4 separate regions of the Homo sapiens genome follow, and regions 2, 3 and 4 are each linked to region 1. Evidence: promoter capture Hi-C in 16 types of primary human blood cells and fetal thymus (Javierre and others, 2016). All regions are on one chromosome and are shown on one strand. Each heading gives the region's core, a stretch centred on a gene start or on the middle of the fragment in contact. The rest is flanking DNA. Distances are from core to core; before and after follow the strand shown. Region 1 holds the start of CD2AP (CD2 associated protein). Region 2 overlaps CRISP2 (cysteine rich secretory protein 2). Region 3 has its middle 3.5 kb from the start of RHAG. Region 4 overlaps C6orf141 (chromosome 6 open reading frame 141).

Evidence for each region. The method cuts DNA at HindIII sites, captures the fragments that hold promoters and counts their contacts. A CHiCAGO score of 5 or more calls a contact.
Region 2: a contact is called between a fragment that was not itself captured here and the fragment with the promoter of CD2AP in region 1, in 1 of 17 cell types (erythroblasts). The highest score is 11.4, in erythroblasts.
Region 3: a contact is called between a fragment that was not itself captured here and the fragment with the promoter of CD2AP in region 1, in 1 of 17 cell types (erythroblasts). The highest score is 9.4, in erythroblasts.
Region 4: a fragment that was not itself captured here is called in contact with the fragment with the promoter of CD2AP in region 1 in 1 of 17 cell types (endothelial precursors); the score reaches 7.2 in endothelial precursors.

Annotation. Positions count from the first base shown.
Region 1 is chr6:47,475,904-47,479,582 of GRCh38, reverse strand. CD2AP (CD2 associated protein) reads right to left here and starts at 1,794. Exons shown (of 18, transcript NM_012120.3): 1 at 1,335-1,794. The coding sequence starts at 1,338. It overlaps CD2AP-DT (CD2AP divergent transcript), which reads left to right and starts at 1,511. Exons shown (of 1, transcript NR_187257.1): 1 at 1,511-2,340. RefSeq lists an enhancer at 510-1,236 and a silencer at 1,523-2,032. The HindIII fragment of the contact is 1,754 bases long and covers 810-2,563 here.
Region 2 is chr6:49,696,555-49,700,233 of GRCh38, reverse strand. It overlaps CRISP2 (cysteine rich secretory protein 2), which reads left to right. Exons shown (of 10, transcript NM_003296.4): 6 at 343-430; 7 at 1,727-1,872; 8 at 2,277-2,374. Among named protein-coding and RNA genes, the nearest start is that of CRISP2, 15 kb to the left of the region's middle. The HindIII fragment of the contact is 511 bases long and covers 1,417-1,927 here.
Region 3 is chr6:49,638,520-49,642,198 of GRCh38, reverse strand. No RefSeq gene overlaps it. Among named protein-coding and RNA genes, the nearest start is that of RHAG, 3.5 kb to the right of the region's middle. The HindIII fragment of the contact is 2,286 bases long and covers 623-2,908 here.
Region 4 is chr6:49,551,680-49,555,358 of GRCh38, reverse strand. It overlaps C6orf141 (chromosome 6 open reading frame 141), which reads right to left. Exons shown (of 1, transcript NM_001145652.2): 1 at 3,264-3,679. Among named protein-coding and RNA genes, the nearest start is that of C6orf141, 2.9 kb to the right of the region's middle. RefSeq lists an enhancer at 3,371-3,679. The HindIII fragment of the contact is 5,833 bases long and covers 1-3,679 here.

The DNA.
Region 1 (3,679 bases), core at 545-3,044:
AACTAATCAATTATAAAATAATTCATTTGAAAATTCCAAATAGCAAATGTTTTATTTCACTGTTTTTGAGCTCAAGAGCACTTTTGAGTATGAAAGTTACCTGAAAGGAGGGAGGTGGAGAAGGGAACATAAAATTAGAAAAGTCTAAGAAAACAGAGGATAGCTAGGCGAGTGTCTATAAACAATATGCTCAAAACATCCCCCACAAAGCAAAGTGTGGACAGAGGGTGCCACATCAGCAGTAGTCTGTATTCGTCCTGCTTCTAAATCATTTGTTAATTACATGAATTATTCATTTCGGTGATCGTTTGTTGATATGAAGCAGTACCAACTCTCAACTGCAAAAAGTGATAGGGTCCTCCTGATTTGCTCTACAAAAATCAAACTTGGGTTTACTCTTACAGAACACGTTCTGCCTTATAGAGACACAGGGTGTTTTGTTTTTTGTAAGCTATTCTTAAGTTGCTTTTAATTTTTAAAGGATTGAGGGAGTTAGTTTAATGCCTAGCCCACACCGAACTTTGTTATCAAAAGAAATTGTTACACCACTTAACAAAACTCCTTTTCAACCCGGACTGCCACACATTCTGCCTTCTCTAACTTCAAACAAAACTATAAAGCACATAGTAAATAACATATAAGGCCTTGTATTTTTCTCTCCTCCGGCAAGGAAGTCTAACTCCAAACAGGAAACTGCTCCTCAAAGGATCCAACACTGAAGTCCAAACCCAGTCCTCGGGAGCACACTGAATGCTTAGGTGCCAACACACTTGCCTAGGTAGAACCCGAGTAAAACAAATACTCAAGCTTTCCTGTCCTTGAGGCACCCCTTGCGAGTTTCAGCAGGAAAAAAAAAAAGTTTTTGAACAAATTTATCTCTCTCCTTAAACGTATTCAAAGCCTCGCAGAAAATAAAGAAGTTGAAAGTGCTACTTTATCAAGTTTTTCGATCGCCCTCCCCCATCCCACGAGGAGGGGGAGGGAAGCAAGGGGATGAGGAAGGGAAGGAAGGTCAGGTCTGATTTTAGCTGGGCAAGGGGTTAGCAGAGGTGGCCAGGCGCCCCCGCCCCCCATCCCGCACCTTTCTGGTGAACAGGAAAAGAGGCGGAGAAGGGAGAGCGAGGGAAAGCACCCGCGAGCTCTCCCACCAGTTTCTCCGTGAGAAGAGCAAGGTGGAAGGCAGGGCAAGAAGGGGCGGTGGGGAGAATGGAGAGGGTGGGGTGCTGCCGCTCAGGGGCTGACCGCAGTCGCCTCCCCAGAAGGCCGAGAAAGGGCACAGCCTCCCCGGGTCTGGAAGGTCCGGACGGGCGGCGGGAAGCGCCCGAGTCTCTTACCCATGCTGGGGGCTCCCGCGGGGAGAAGCCGACGTCCGCTCCTCCTCCTCCTCCTCCAGTGGTGGCTCGCGCGGCCGCTCCCGCGGCTGGAGGCGGGACCCGCGCTCCGCGCTAGCCCCTCCTGAGCTCAGGCGGGGCGAAGAGTCGCCTCCATCCGCCCGCGGCGCTCTCCTACCAGTCTCTTCAGCGCGGCCCTCGAGGCAGAGGCAAAGGCGGCGACAGCTCCTCACCCCTGGCCTCCCCAGGAGCCACGGCGGCGGGAGGGCCCTACCCCGCCCGCCCGACCGCGGTTTTCCCACCCTGGCCGCTCCCGCAGTGGGGAGGGACCCACCGGTTTGCCCAGACCCTCGGCTCCAACCCCGAGCGCCCGCCTAGCCTCGGAGCCCGCCCCTCGCCTCTTCCTTAGCACTCGCAGTTAGAAAAGGCGACACCGTAGACTAAGGTGGGGACCCAGACAGAGGCCGAGAAGGTGCGGGGAGCTGGGACCGGGAGGAGGCAAATCTCGCGAGAACGCCCTCGTTCTCCCCGCCCCACCCCGCCCCGTCGCGTTCGGGCTCTCTCCCGGTCCCCACGGCTGCTGCCAGGTGCGGTGACGTCACGGCCGGGGGTCGCGCGCCGACCGCGTCCAGGTGCAGCGAGCGGATGAGGAAGCGGTGCAGAGGAGCTTGGGCTCGCTCTCCCCCCGGAGGCTCGGAACAGCTTGGGCGGGCGTTTGGTCTGGTTTGTCGCCTCAGATGGATCAAAAGGTTTCTGCTGATAGGCAAAGTTGCCCCACTTTCCGCGGCGGCGACGCGGAGTTACTTTCTGCAGCGAAGCAGCCTCGAGGACCTTAAAGGGAAAAGGCGGACAGAAGGAGGGCGAGCGCACTTGATTTCGACCTTTAAGGGAGGCCCAGATGCTGCCAGGCCCCTCAGTTTACCTTGCGAAGTTACTTACGGATCAGCAGCATTTGGTCTTCGTCGGGTGAGGGAGAAACCTAGGCATCAAATAAATTCTGTTTCACAGATTCCTTTAGTCTCTTGTCAGCTGAATGCAACTTTATAATTTGCTTTTTTTCTTTTTAAAGTATAATTTGAGTTGTTACTTGATCGAGAGAAAAATAGGCATCATGATTTGAAATACTGCCAGGCATTTTTTCTAGCGTCAATGTGAAGGAGGGCATAGGATTACTATAGTCAGTCAAACATGAGCTTGGTAGTTACGAAGAAGTATAATTATTTCAGCAAGCTTTTTTTCCCCCTTCTGTTTAAGTAGACCCAATTCCAGGGCAGATGTGTGTGTGAGCGTTTGTTGAACGCCAACTATTGTGCCTAGTGCTTTTTCAAGAAATTTTGTAATTCTCAGTCATCCAGCACTGAAACTGACTTGCCCTTTGGATCCAGGCAGACATGGGTCCTTGAAACTCAGCACAGCCATTTACTTTTTGTGGGACCTTGGATAAATTAACCTGTCTGAACTTCAATTTCTTGAGTATGTTCAAACAAATCTTGCAATGCAGAGCACAGTGGCCCATAGTAGTAACCTTGGACGTATCCATTACCACTATTTCCTATAGGCCTGCTTTTGCCATCTTTTAATTCTTCTAATGCTTCTCAAAAGGTTACATGTGGTAATTTTATAACAAGAATGATCAAACTCACAAACAGCAGCCAAAAAGGATAAAAGAAAAAAGTTGAATATACTCACCTAAACAAGATTACATTGACATCATGGAACATGTGCCTTTTTTAGGTAACAAATATGTGTTCAGCATTATGTTCGTTGTCCCCTACCAAGCAAAAAAATAAAAAGCTAAAGTACAGCGCTAATCCTCAGAGATTTTGCATTCTTCTAGGGGGGTGAGATACGAACACAAAGTTAATTAACAGTATGAGGTAGTGAGGGTCAAATGCTTGAGAATTTAAAGGAAAATAAATTACTGTGGGCAAAGCAAGCTGTAAAGAGAAGGTATGAGTTGAACGAAAGCTTGGGGAAGGCAATAATTCAGTCTGGAGGAGTCCTAGAACTGAGGAATGGAAGTGGATATGCAAACAGAGTATTTCTGAGCCTTTAAGAAATGTGTGTGGCTCAAGCAGCCCATAAGGAAGGCCATTTACGATTTGGAAGAATGAGGCTGGTGATGGGCTAAGAAGGATTCATGAAAGGAGACAAAAATATAAGCTATTGGAAGCACATACATAGGTAGTAAATTCAAGGCCCAGAGCCCTTAAGTTTCTAGAGACTAAATTTCTAGGTCTCTAGAATCCTTAATATTTAAAGAAGAAAGGCCAATGAATAGAATGGAAAAGAAGTTAAGTAAAACAGAAGGGGGAATAAAGACTATCAGATTTGATAATAAGGGCATC
Region 2 (3,679 bases), core at 423-2,922, 2.2 Mb before region 1:
CGTTGGCCATCTTATTACTATTAAAATATAATTAGAATATTTCACATGCTTATCAATATTTAGACTAGCATCATTAATAAATATCCTAGGTATGGCTGCTTTGCTATCATAAATAATCACATATTATTGTCTTATTTTGCTTTTTAGATATATTACCTATGGACTACCCATCATGTGTAAACTGGCACCAGAAGAGATAAAAACACTTAAAAACATTTTAATAACAGTAGTATTAGAGAATACATCTACAGAAATTTTAAAGTATTTACAAATCAGATTATAAAGTGTATGTTTCATTGTGGCTGAATCATTAAGTGTATTTTGTTTTCTTGTGACGTTTAGGAATGGAGCAGAGAGGTAACAACGAATGCCCAAAGGTGGGCAAACAAGTGCACTTTACAACATAGTGATCCAGAGGACCGCAAAACCAGTATGTAAATTAGTAAATATTTGTTGAATAAATAAATGAATAAAATAATAATAGAGCATTGTAGGATGCTCTATAATAAGAAGACTTTGAAAATAAATGTTACTTATACTGCTGTCTTTTTGAAGTCAAAGTATCTGTATACAGAGGGGTATTTACAATAAGAACAATTTTGTGTTTTTTTATTGTGTACATTATGCAAATAATTTTGCTTCTTGCAACCAGCTCATGAGTACAGCAGATTTTATATCATCTTTCTTTTTGTAAGTTTAAAGATTAGAAAGCCAGAATTTGAAAGAAAAGTGACTTACCCAAGAACATAATCTGAAACAGTGTCATACTAGAAATTTTTAACCAAGCTTTCTGATTTCTAACCCACTGCCCTTTTTGTTAATTTATGTAGCTGTCTGATGTTTTGAAATCTATTTTTTGTATCCATAAAATATATTGAACTTATGATGAATTATTCCTAAGTTTTGCTCTAAAGTGGATAAAAGTGGATAAAGTGGATTTAAATTTATCGTATTCAAAATTTCTATAAAAATGAATATTTTTGAATATATTAATATATTAATTTTTAATATCAGACTAGCAAGTATTTTGTGTGGACTGGATACCTACAATGCACAGAATACTATATTCGAGTTTTAAAAAGACATATCAAGGATTATAAAAACTAGTAAATGCCCAAATAATTTATGAAGTGTTTCTGGGCTGTAAGGCACTTCTTGACAAACTCACAAGGATTTCAGCTTGTGATATCTGATTTCCTGGTTAAGAGAAAACCCATAAATTTTGAAAACTGTTATCCTTCCTGGTGTCAGTTTTCTCTTGATTGGGACTCTTAAAGACAGCCTATAAAGTCTTTTTTTCAGATTTCACACAAAGTCTTATACATTTATTTGGGGTCCTATATTTGAAAAATCTCTGTTGAGGGTTACTAGAGCAGAAAACAGAATATAAGAGTTGGTCACTGCCTTTAGCAAGCTTACCATATACAGCTGGGAACACTCAAGGCATACACATGTGGAAAATTTAGCATGCAAGGGCATTTTTAAGGAGCAGAGTGTTAACCTACTCAAAGTTTTATGTGGTCAGGCCAACCTCAGTGTGTCAGGCAGTTAAGTGTTCTAATCAGCTTTATAGCTGATAAGGAACTGAGGCACTCCTTTATGTATTAATCAACAGTTAGCATCTGCTGGACCCTGGGTTTGAAAGGCAACATCTTTGTGTTTGTGTAGTCAATTTCTTTTACCATTGCATGTTTATTACCTTGCTCATGAATGATCTGCCCCTTAGGTACAAGATGTGGTGAGAATCTCTATATGTCAAGTGACCCTACTTCCTGGTCTTCTGCAATCCAAAGCTGGTATGACGAGATCCTAGATTTTGTCTATGGTGTAGGACCAAAGAGTCCCAATGCAGTTGTTGGACATTATACTCAGGTAAGAAGAATGCATGAAAATACCTATGTCACAGATGTTCTAATAGAGGAAAGCTTCTCCAAATTATGACCACTGTAATGTTCAATTTAGGAGAACAGTCCGAGTGGGTAGAATACAGTCTTGGCATTTGGCTGTTGTAGAGCTGTCATTTTTGTCCATGGTCAGCCAAACTCTTAGTAGGAAAGCAGACTCTGTATTGTTCCTACATTATAAATTTTAAAGTGATGAATGTACATGAAAATTAAATATTTTTAAAGTTTATGACTTTGGTTCAATAATTTAAATATTTTTATGGTATATGTCTATAAAACTAACATTTTTCAGTTTTATATTTGCTACTTTTTTAAATATTTTTCATCTTCTCTAATGTACTTTTATATATTTATTCCATTGTTAATTTGCAGCTTGTTTGGTACTCGACTTACCAGGTAGGCTGTGGAATTGCCTACTGTCCCAATCAAGATAGTCTAAAATACTACTATGTTTGCCAATATTGTCCTGCGTAAGTAGACTGTTTAGAGTTTAATGGCAATAATTCTATCTGCAATTTATTTTTTAATAATTCTCATATCTTAAACCAGAATGAAAACATATCTCAATAAAAGGGAGGGGATAAACGTTTGGAAATGTTTTTTAAGGTTGAGACACTTTCAACTTCTCAGAGGAGAACAACTTCTCACTTTCAGGTATAAAAACTGAAGCTCTCATTCCTCATTAACAGAATAATGTCTTTTCTTTCAATTGGCCTTCCCTCAGCTTAGGGTTACTCTGTGAGCATGTGTAATATGTATTTCTCTAGAATTGGTATCATCACATCTTGCTAATTTCATACTCTAGGAGTATAGATGCTTTAGGGTGCTGGTGAGATTGCAAATGGAAGATGGATTGTGATTTTGGCCCTTTCTGCTCAAATATTCCTACTTCTGCTTATGTAAAACACACACACACACACACCACCACACACAATTACCATTACAAATTATTCATTCATTTGGATTTCAATGGCTTTTCAGGACATCTTTATTTCAGAATACAGAAAAGATAACATCTTAAGTCTCTGATTCTCAGAATTGTTCACAGAAAGCTCTTTAACCATCTTGTAAGGTTTGATTTGTAGCAGTAAACATGCTTCTTCATTAAACAATATGTTTAGAGTTATCCACAATAAATCCTATGGATATTTTAAGAAGATATTCACAATATCAAATTTAGTGTTTGAAATTCTTTACTACTGGAGGCTGCGGTGGGGGGCACAGCTACAGGATTTGTTTCGAGACTGTAGATAGCGAAGATGATGTACGATTCCAGTTTGAGAAGTATAACCTCCAAAGTCATTTTCTTTAAAGTACCTATTAGGATTCAAGTAGAGAGAATTGAAAGGCCCTGGGAGAATGTATCCAAACTCACTTACTGGCCCTCAGAGGGAAGCATCAGCAGCCAGGTGTCAGAAGTGACAGTTGGAATAGATCATGAGGGAAGCCAAGGGAACTAGAACTTTTAAAATCCTTTTATATCTGTTTCACAATTTTCCAAGAGCTCATACACACACAGCTATATTCTAGGCAAAGAGACTGAGATTCAGCTGCACTTCCTTGGGTCCTTACCCCACTTGGTCTATTGAGATTTGGACTCCCACATAATTTTAAATGAATTTAATGGCCAATAGAATAATGATCATCATTATCCTATGGTTAATCATTGCAAAACTATTATATCCTGGATATCAGTATTTATCAAAACTTTTCTTTAATCTTTTTTTCTTTTTTTTTTTTTTACTTTAAGTTCTGGGATAACAAAAACTAATATT
Region 3 (3,679 bases), core at 516-3,015, 2.2 Mb before region 1:
ATAGTTTTAATTTTTCTTTTTTTTTTTTTTTAGAGACGGAGTCTCACTCTTTCTCCCAGGCCGGACTGCAGTGGCGCTATCTCAGCTCACTGCAAGCTCTGCCTCCCGGGTTCACGTCATTCCTGCCTCAGCCTCCCGAGTAGCTGGGATTACAGGCGCCCGCCACCGCGCCCGGCTAATTTTTTGTATTTTTAGTAGAGACAGGGTTTCACCGTGTTAGCCAAGATGGTCTCAATCTCCTGACCTCGTGATCCACGCGCCTCGGCCTCCCAAAGTGCTGGGATTACAGGAGTGAGCCACCACGCCCGGCCAGTTCTAAAAGTTTTAATTCCCTTTTTATGTTTCAGAAGTTTCTTTGATATTGTCAGTACCTTGAGATCAGTGTGAGCATAAGTTATCTCACATAGAAAAACAGTATGGGGTATATGAGATATCTTGCTACAAGCAATTATGTAGCCATATAAATAAATAAATAATAAATGGTTATAAAAAGAAAAACAATATGGTATAGCTGAAAGAAGTTAAATTTAGGAAATTGGGCAAACCTGTATTCATTATGGCTCTGCCATCTACCCGATGTGCAACTTTGAACGAGTTGCTGAAACTCTCTGAGCCTCAAGCTTATCATCTCTCTATAGAGTTCTCTTTTAACTTGGACGAGTTAGTTTTGTTGTCTTTGCTAAAGATTACTTCAGAGGCGCTCTAGCTCTTCTTCTGCAAAGTTAATCACATGAAAAGTGAAAAATCAACTTGTCTAAAGAATACAGGGGCCTCCTGGGAAGATTTTAACTGATATTCTTCAACATCTCCCTGGAATTCAGAGTTAACACAATTCATAGACATAAACTAATATGTCCGTGAGAATTACCAGGGGCAAGAAATGATAGGAAGCCTCCTGAGACTGAATAAAAAGAGAAATAAAGCTGTTGGCCATAGTTAAAACAGGCATTTTTAACCTGGAGTTCTATAAATATAATTCAGATGGTCCATATATTTAAATAGGGAAACAACAGTGCATTTAACTGAAATGTAACATTTTTTCTATTGTGAATGTAGAAAATAAACAACAGCATCATTAATAGTATTGATAACTGCCACTAATATAAATCACAAATAATTTTCTCTCTTTTACTTTTTTCAGATATCTCAAAATATTATTTACACTCATTACTTCAACTTGGAAATTATGCTCATTATTAGACATGCCACAAGATTTATTTCATCCATTATAGAGAAGCACCTATATCAGACAGTTGGGTATAGGTGCTTCTTTTATATTACAGTATTTTGATCGGTGTATTTCAATAGAACTGGTTTCCTTGGTAATCCAATGTATTTTATTTTGTGCATTTAAAATCTATTTTGATATGGGATTCAGAGGCTTGTGCCAAAAGTGTCCATAGCACAAAAATGTTAAGGGTCCCTAGCTTAAGGTAAGTTCCAAAGCCTTGGGCAGCTGCTTTGGAAATGCTAGTGCTGATTTCTCTGGTCCCGTAACCCTGCTCAATTCCAGTGTTCTGTGAAATAATGCTGAGTGCCACCAGGTAGCTGAAAAGAAAGCCCTAGGGGAGGGCACAGGGCCATCCACCATAGATCCGAGAAGTTGCAAAGAACCTTTATGGGAAGAAAGACCTTTTCTTTCACCAGATCCCCTATGGCAGCAAGAAATGTTTGTGTCTGCTCCTCACTTGGGAAGAGAAGTTGGACTGGCCATCCTATTAGACTAAATAAAACCCATGGTCTCTTTTTGGAAGGAAAACATTAAAGAAGCACAAAAAGAGAGTCACTGGACCTCATACCAGTATGGCAGTTGGGTGCTTAAGTAGCTACACATATAAACCAACGGAACAAGTTATGTTTGCAAAGTATAAAAATATATCAAATTGCAGGCCAGGCACAGTGGCTCACACCTGTAATCCCAGCACTTTGGGAGGCCAAGGTGGGTGGATTACCTGAGATCAGGAGTTTGAGACCAGCCTGCCCAACATGGTGAAACCCCGCCTCTACTGAAAATACAAATATTAGCTGGATGTGGTGGTGCACGCCTGTAATCCCAGCTACTCAGGTGGCTGAGGCAGGATAATCACTTGAACCTGGGAGGTGGAGGTTGCAGTGAGCCAAGATCGCGCCATTGCACTCCAGCCTGGGCAACAGAGCAAGACTCCGTCTCAAAAAAATAATAATAATATATGTGTGTGTGTATAAAATTGCAGTGGGACTAAACAAGGTGGGTAAATAGCCACCTAACACAGTGTCCAGAACAGAAAATGCTTAAGGTATTTTAGTACCTTCATCTTCCTAAATACCTCCCACCCTCCCACCACCATTACAAATACACAAAGGTAGAGAGAAAGAGACAGTTTAAAACAGTGGTGGTCCTGTTTCAATTATTCTTTGCTATTAAAAATAAGCAAACTCAAATTAAAATTCCAAATAATAACAATTAGCTACGTTTTACATATATTCAGAAAATAAGGCAAAGAAACTGTTTCTTTCCTAAAGTCACACAGCAAGTTGAGGATCAAAGATCCCTTGTAGCCCACTGGCTCCTGCATTAACCCAGGAATACTTCGTTTGTATCTGTGTATTTAGCTGGGAAGTTGAAGGTTCATTTGCTTGGTGTGTGTTTTATTTTGTTTGGTTTGGTTTGCACAAGAACGTGGCTTACCCATTCATGATTCTTTCCGATTTTACCTCTTTTACTGAAGGCACTAGAAGAAAGCCATCCTGTAGTTTCATAGGCAGACAAGGCAACAGATAAATCATTTCCACTTTAGGACACCCACACCCTCAGCCTATTGTCTTTGTGATTCAGAACTGTCAGGAAAGAGATTTCTAAAAAGCTGTTGAAATCTTCAGGTTCACACTACCATATGTTGGTCTGCCAGGAATTTGGCCCTCCCAAGCTTCATGGCTTGAGCTTGATCCTCCCTTTTGTTCTAGGCGCAGAGAACCTGATGATAAGCCCTCACTGATTGAAATAATGAGAGAGTAGACAGCAGTATGAAAGCTACTGTCAGGATTCTAAATATTTATAATTTAAAATGAAATTTATTAGAGTAAAGCTGTTCCTCTCTCCCTTCCTCACACCGCTGACCTGCCTGCTGAGTGTTTCTCCCTTCAAGTCTGCCCTTAATTCAATTCACTCAAATGATGTTTATCAATTATATATTGTGCTAGACATGGTATTATTCATTCTAGATAACAAATGAGGTGCAAAAGAGACACAGCCCCTGTCCTGGAGCTAACAGGCCAGTAAGGGAAACGGCCATTCTTAAAAATTACATATAAATACAAACACTACATAAATACAGCACACACAGCCAACTGTACTAATTGCAAAGAAAAGACCACAATTCAATGAGAGATAATAGTGGAAACCTGGTTCAAGATGGGAGATCAATGAAGGCTTTTCTGAGGAAGTATCATTTTATCTGAAAACTGAAGAATGATGGATGATGTATATAGGACAGGGAGCAGAGAATATGTGGGAAGATTTCCAGTTACAAAGAGAAGCTTATGTGAAGAACTGAACAAGAGAAATAATTTCCCAGATGGTAGACAATGCAGCTTATTTCAATACAAATGTCTACATTCAGAATAAGGCAAAAAATCTGAATTCCTCGAAGTTGAACAGGCTGAAGTCAAGTGCTGGCATAGTCCCATCACCTATATGAGT
Region 4 (3,679 bases), core at 616-3,115, 2.1 Mb before region 1:
ATTTTCCCAATTTTTATGCAGTGTATACAACTGTTTCTTTTAATAAAAAGTTTTTTTCTTTTTCAAAGCAAAGAGCCACATCAAGTTTTATCACCAAGCACTGGTAACATCCAACAAAAATAAGCAGTAAGTCAAATGTAATGATTCCCAAAAGGAGATCATGGTTGTAAACAAAGAGTTTTAAGAGAGGATAACACTTGCCTGATCCTGGGGGTTATGCGATTCTGACATTTATCTTATGGTCACTGGAGTGGCTTCTGGAAGTCTTTGATGCGGTTCATCCACCTAACACAATTTTAGATAATCATGTTTTTCAGAGGAGTAGAGGTAAGATCAAAGAGCCAAGATCCAGTCATTCTCAGAGATTTCTTAGTATTGAGGATGCCCAAGTTTCACTTTGGATGCACTCCCAGGACATTTGTAAACGGGATAAGATTTCTCAGGCTCTTCAAATAACAGGGTTCTGCTTGGATCAGGAACACCTGTGAAGCAAATTCAACAGTATTTGGACTTACTACTTTTTGTTTCCAATGAAAAGGAACTCTATATTAAATGAAATCTATAAACATGTTCTAGGCAGTTAATAGGGAAGTTGAGTAAGCACTTTAAAAATAAATTTTCATTGCTTGAAACAGTGAGAAAAGGAAAAAAAAAATCACTTAAAATTAACTCAAACAGGCCGGGCATGGTGGCTCAGGCCTGTAATCCCACCACTTTGGGAGGCCGAGGCGGGCGCATCACAAGGTCAAGGAGATCGAGATCATCCTGGCTAACACGGTGAAACCCCGTCTCTACTAAAAATACAAAAAAACTAGCCAGGCATGGTGGCGGGCGCATGTAGTCCCAGCTACTCAGGAGGCTGAGGCAGGAGAATGGTGTGAACATGGGAGGCGGAGCTTGGAGTGAGCAGAGATCGTGCCACTGCACTCCAGCCTGGGCGACAGAGCAAGACTCTGTCTCAAAAACAAAACAAAATTAACTCAAACATATTTGGTTTAAAGGAGTTAAGCTAACTTGACTAAATACGTTTTTGGCTGAAAGACAAAATGAAAACAAATTGTGTCTATTCTGCTTTTCTAGACAACAGGGCATCAGATTTAAAATCCCAGAGGGAAAACAAACTAACCTGACAGGTCAAAGAAAGTATTCAAAGCTCCCATCTGCCCAGAACTAGGAGGTATGTAAACTCTTTTCAGTGACTGTTAAGGATAGTGTACCTTAGTCCTTTGAGCTTTACCATGAGTCCCTACAGAAGATGTGAAGGTCATTTCTAAAGAATTTAAGAAATATACTTACTGATCCATTAAAGGTTAGGAAAAGCTAGAAATAAGTCCTTTCTTTCAGGAGTAGAGAAGAGTCTTATTAAAAACCACCGGCTTGACTTTCATTAGCTTTCTTGTGTTATACAATTTCTGCTTTTTGTTACTAAACAAAAGACTAAAGCCTAGTTAGGATGAAAAGTGAACTAAACAATAACCGTGCTAATAATAAAAAATGTAACTAACTTTGAGGATTTATTGTATGACAGGCAGGGTTCTAAGTATTTTCATTTAACTTAACCCTAAAAAAAAAAAACCCTCTATGAAGTTGATACTATTTATTGTCCCCACTTAACAAATCAGGATACAGAGGCACACAGAGATAAGGCAACTTGCCCAAGGACACAAGTTAATAAAGAGGTAGAGCCAGTTTTGAACCCAAGCAGCTGAACGCCAGAAATTGCCTCCAGAGAAGGCAGCTGAGTGATGCTACTTACCATTTTTGGTTATTGTGAAAGAGACTTTTTTTGTTCTCTATATTCAATGATTAGTCACCTGGGACATGTGATGATTCAACCAAATTAATAAGCTCAGGTCTGAAACTTACATGCCAAGTAAGTTAATCTCCCACTGGAGTCAGGGAGGGTTGTTAAGGAAAAGAGATTCATTTTAAGGGATGAATCTTTTCTACCTGTCAAGCAATTTTGAACACAGATGAGCTCAGATGCTGAATTCCTCTCCCAAGTGAGGGTCTCACAGGCCTAAGAACTGCTAGTGATGATTCTCCAGCCAAGAGGCCTTGCAGAATTCAGGAACATTAAGGTGATTCTAGTACTTCTCATAAACATGAGTTAGAAAACCTAAGATATTGGCCAGGCATGGTGGCTCATACCTGTAATCCCAGCACTTTGGGAGGCGGAGGCAGGAGGATCACCTGAGGTTGGGAGTTCAAGACCAGCCTGGCCAACATGGAGAAACCCCATCTCTACTAAAAATACAGAATTAGCCGGGGTGATGGCACATGCCTGTAATCCCAGCTACTGAGGAGGCTGAGGTAGGAGCATCGCTTGAACCCTGGAGGTAGAGGTTGTGGTGAGCCAAGATCGTGCCGTTGCACTGCAGTCTGGGCAACAAGAGAGAAACTCTGTCTCAAAAAAAAGAAAAAAATAGAAAAAGAAAGAAAACCTAGGATATCCTCAGGCATCTTTTGACCCCTAAGTAAGGGTCAAATAAATCCTCTAAAGGCTGCCCCAAACCTTTAGGAGGGAGATTATCACATTCTTCATCCACTTAGTAAGCATATGCAATTACTAGCTGTGTGACTTAGACATGCTACAAGACCTCTAGGCCTAGGTTGGCTCATGAGTAAAACAGGGGCATCTTATCTATCTGGCCTGCCAGGAGGCAAGAGGTAGATCAGATGATCTTTTGAGAACACTTCAAGCTCTAAACTAAAAATGAAGGCAAAAGGGAAGACTGGGGAAGGAGGCACTTTTCAACTATTTGCTCATCAAAAGCCAGAGTCCTACCTGCTTTGTTAATTCTTGCAGTAAATACTCCTTCAGGTGGTAAAGTCAAGCAGTTCACCTGGAGAGGGCTGCTTTGCTCCTCACAGAGCTTCAACCAGGCCAACTACTAAAGAGTTAATTCACATAGTATTTAATAATAAAGAGGAACAAACAAAATAAGAAAAATTAGTTGTTTCAGTATTACCAGAGGAGATTTTTTTGAACTACACAAGGAGAATGGTATCTTCAATCTATTCTTGACTACAAGTCTCATTAATGAAGAACTATGGAAAAGAATAAGACATGCATTCATTTTATGGCAAACTACATATTGCTATCTACCTTTAGTTCAGAACATTTACATGCAGTATTTTTAATATTAAAATTAAAATGTATGATAAATGCATGTTTACAGGACTAAATTAGCTATTGTTTGCAGTAAAGCCTTTGTAAATGGAATTTCACGTTGAAATCTTAGTCTTCTGTCCCCAACTCCTTCTTTCCCTAGCTCCTCTCGTTTTCTTTCTAACACTGAAATGTGGGGGAGAAAAATGAAAAGTGCACATCAGAAGAGAGTCACTTGCTGCTTTGGTTTTACTTTCCCATTTCTTTTTACTTTCTGTTTTTGGCTTTTAAAACAAGCCTCTTCTCCACCCACTCCCACCCTCTTTGCAGAGAGCAGACTTCAAACTTCACTTCTGTTTCTAGGTCCTAAAGAGAAACAAGAGGGGGGCGGGGAACAGAAAAGAGATCAATTGAGAGTTATTCCAAAATGCAAATTAACAACAGGTTTTCTCATTTCAAAACTCCCACATTCTGCCAATCTGAAAATATCTTTTCTCCACCTCTTCTGAATGACTTAGGTCCCCAGACAGCGAAGGAATTCAAGCCACAAAGGAGGTATTATGCTGC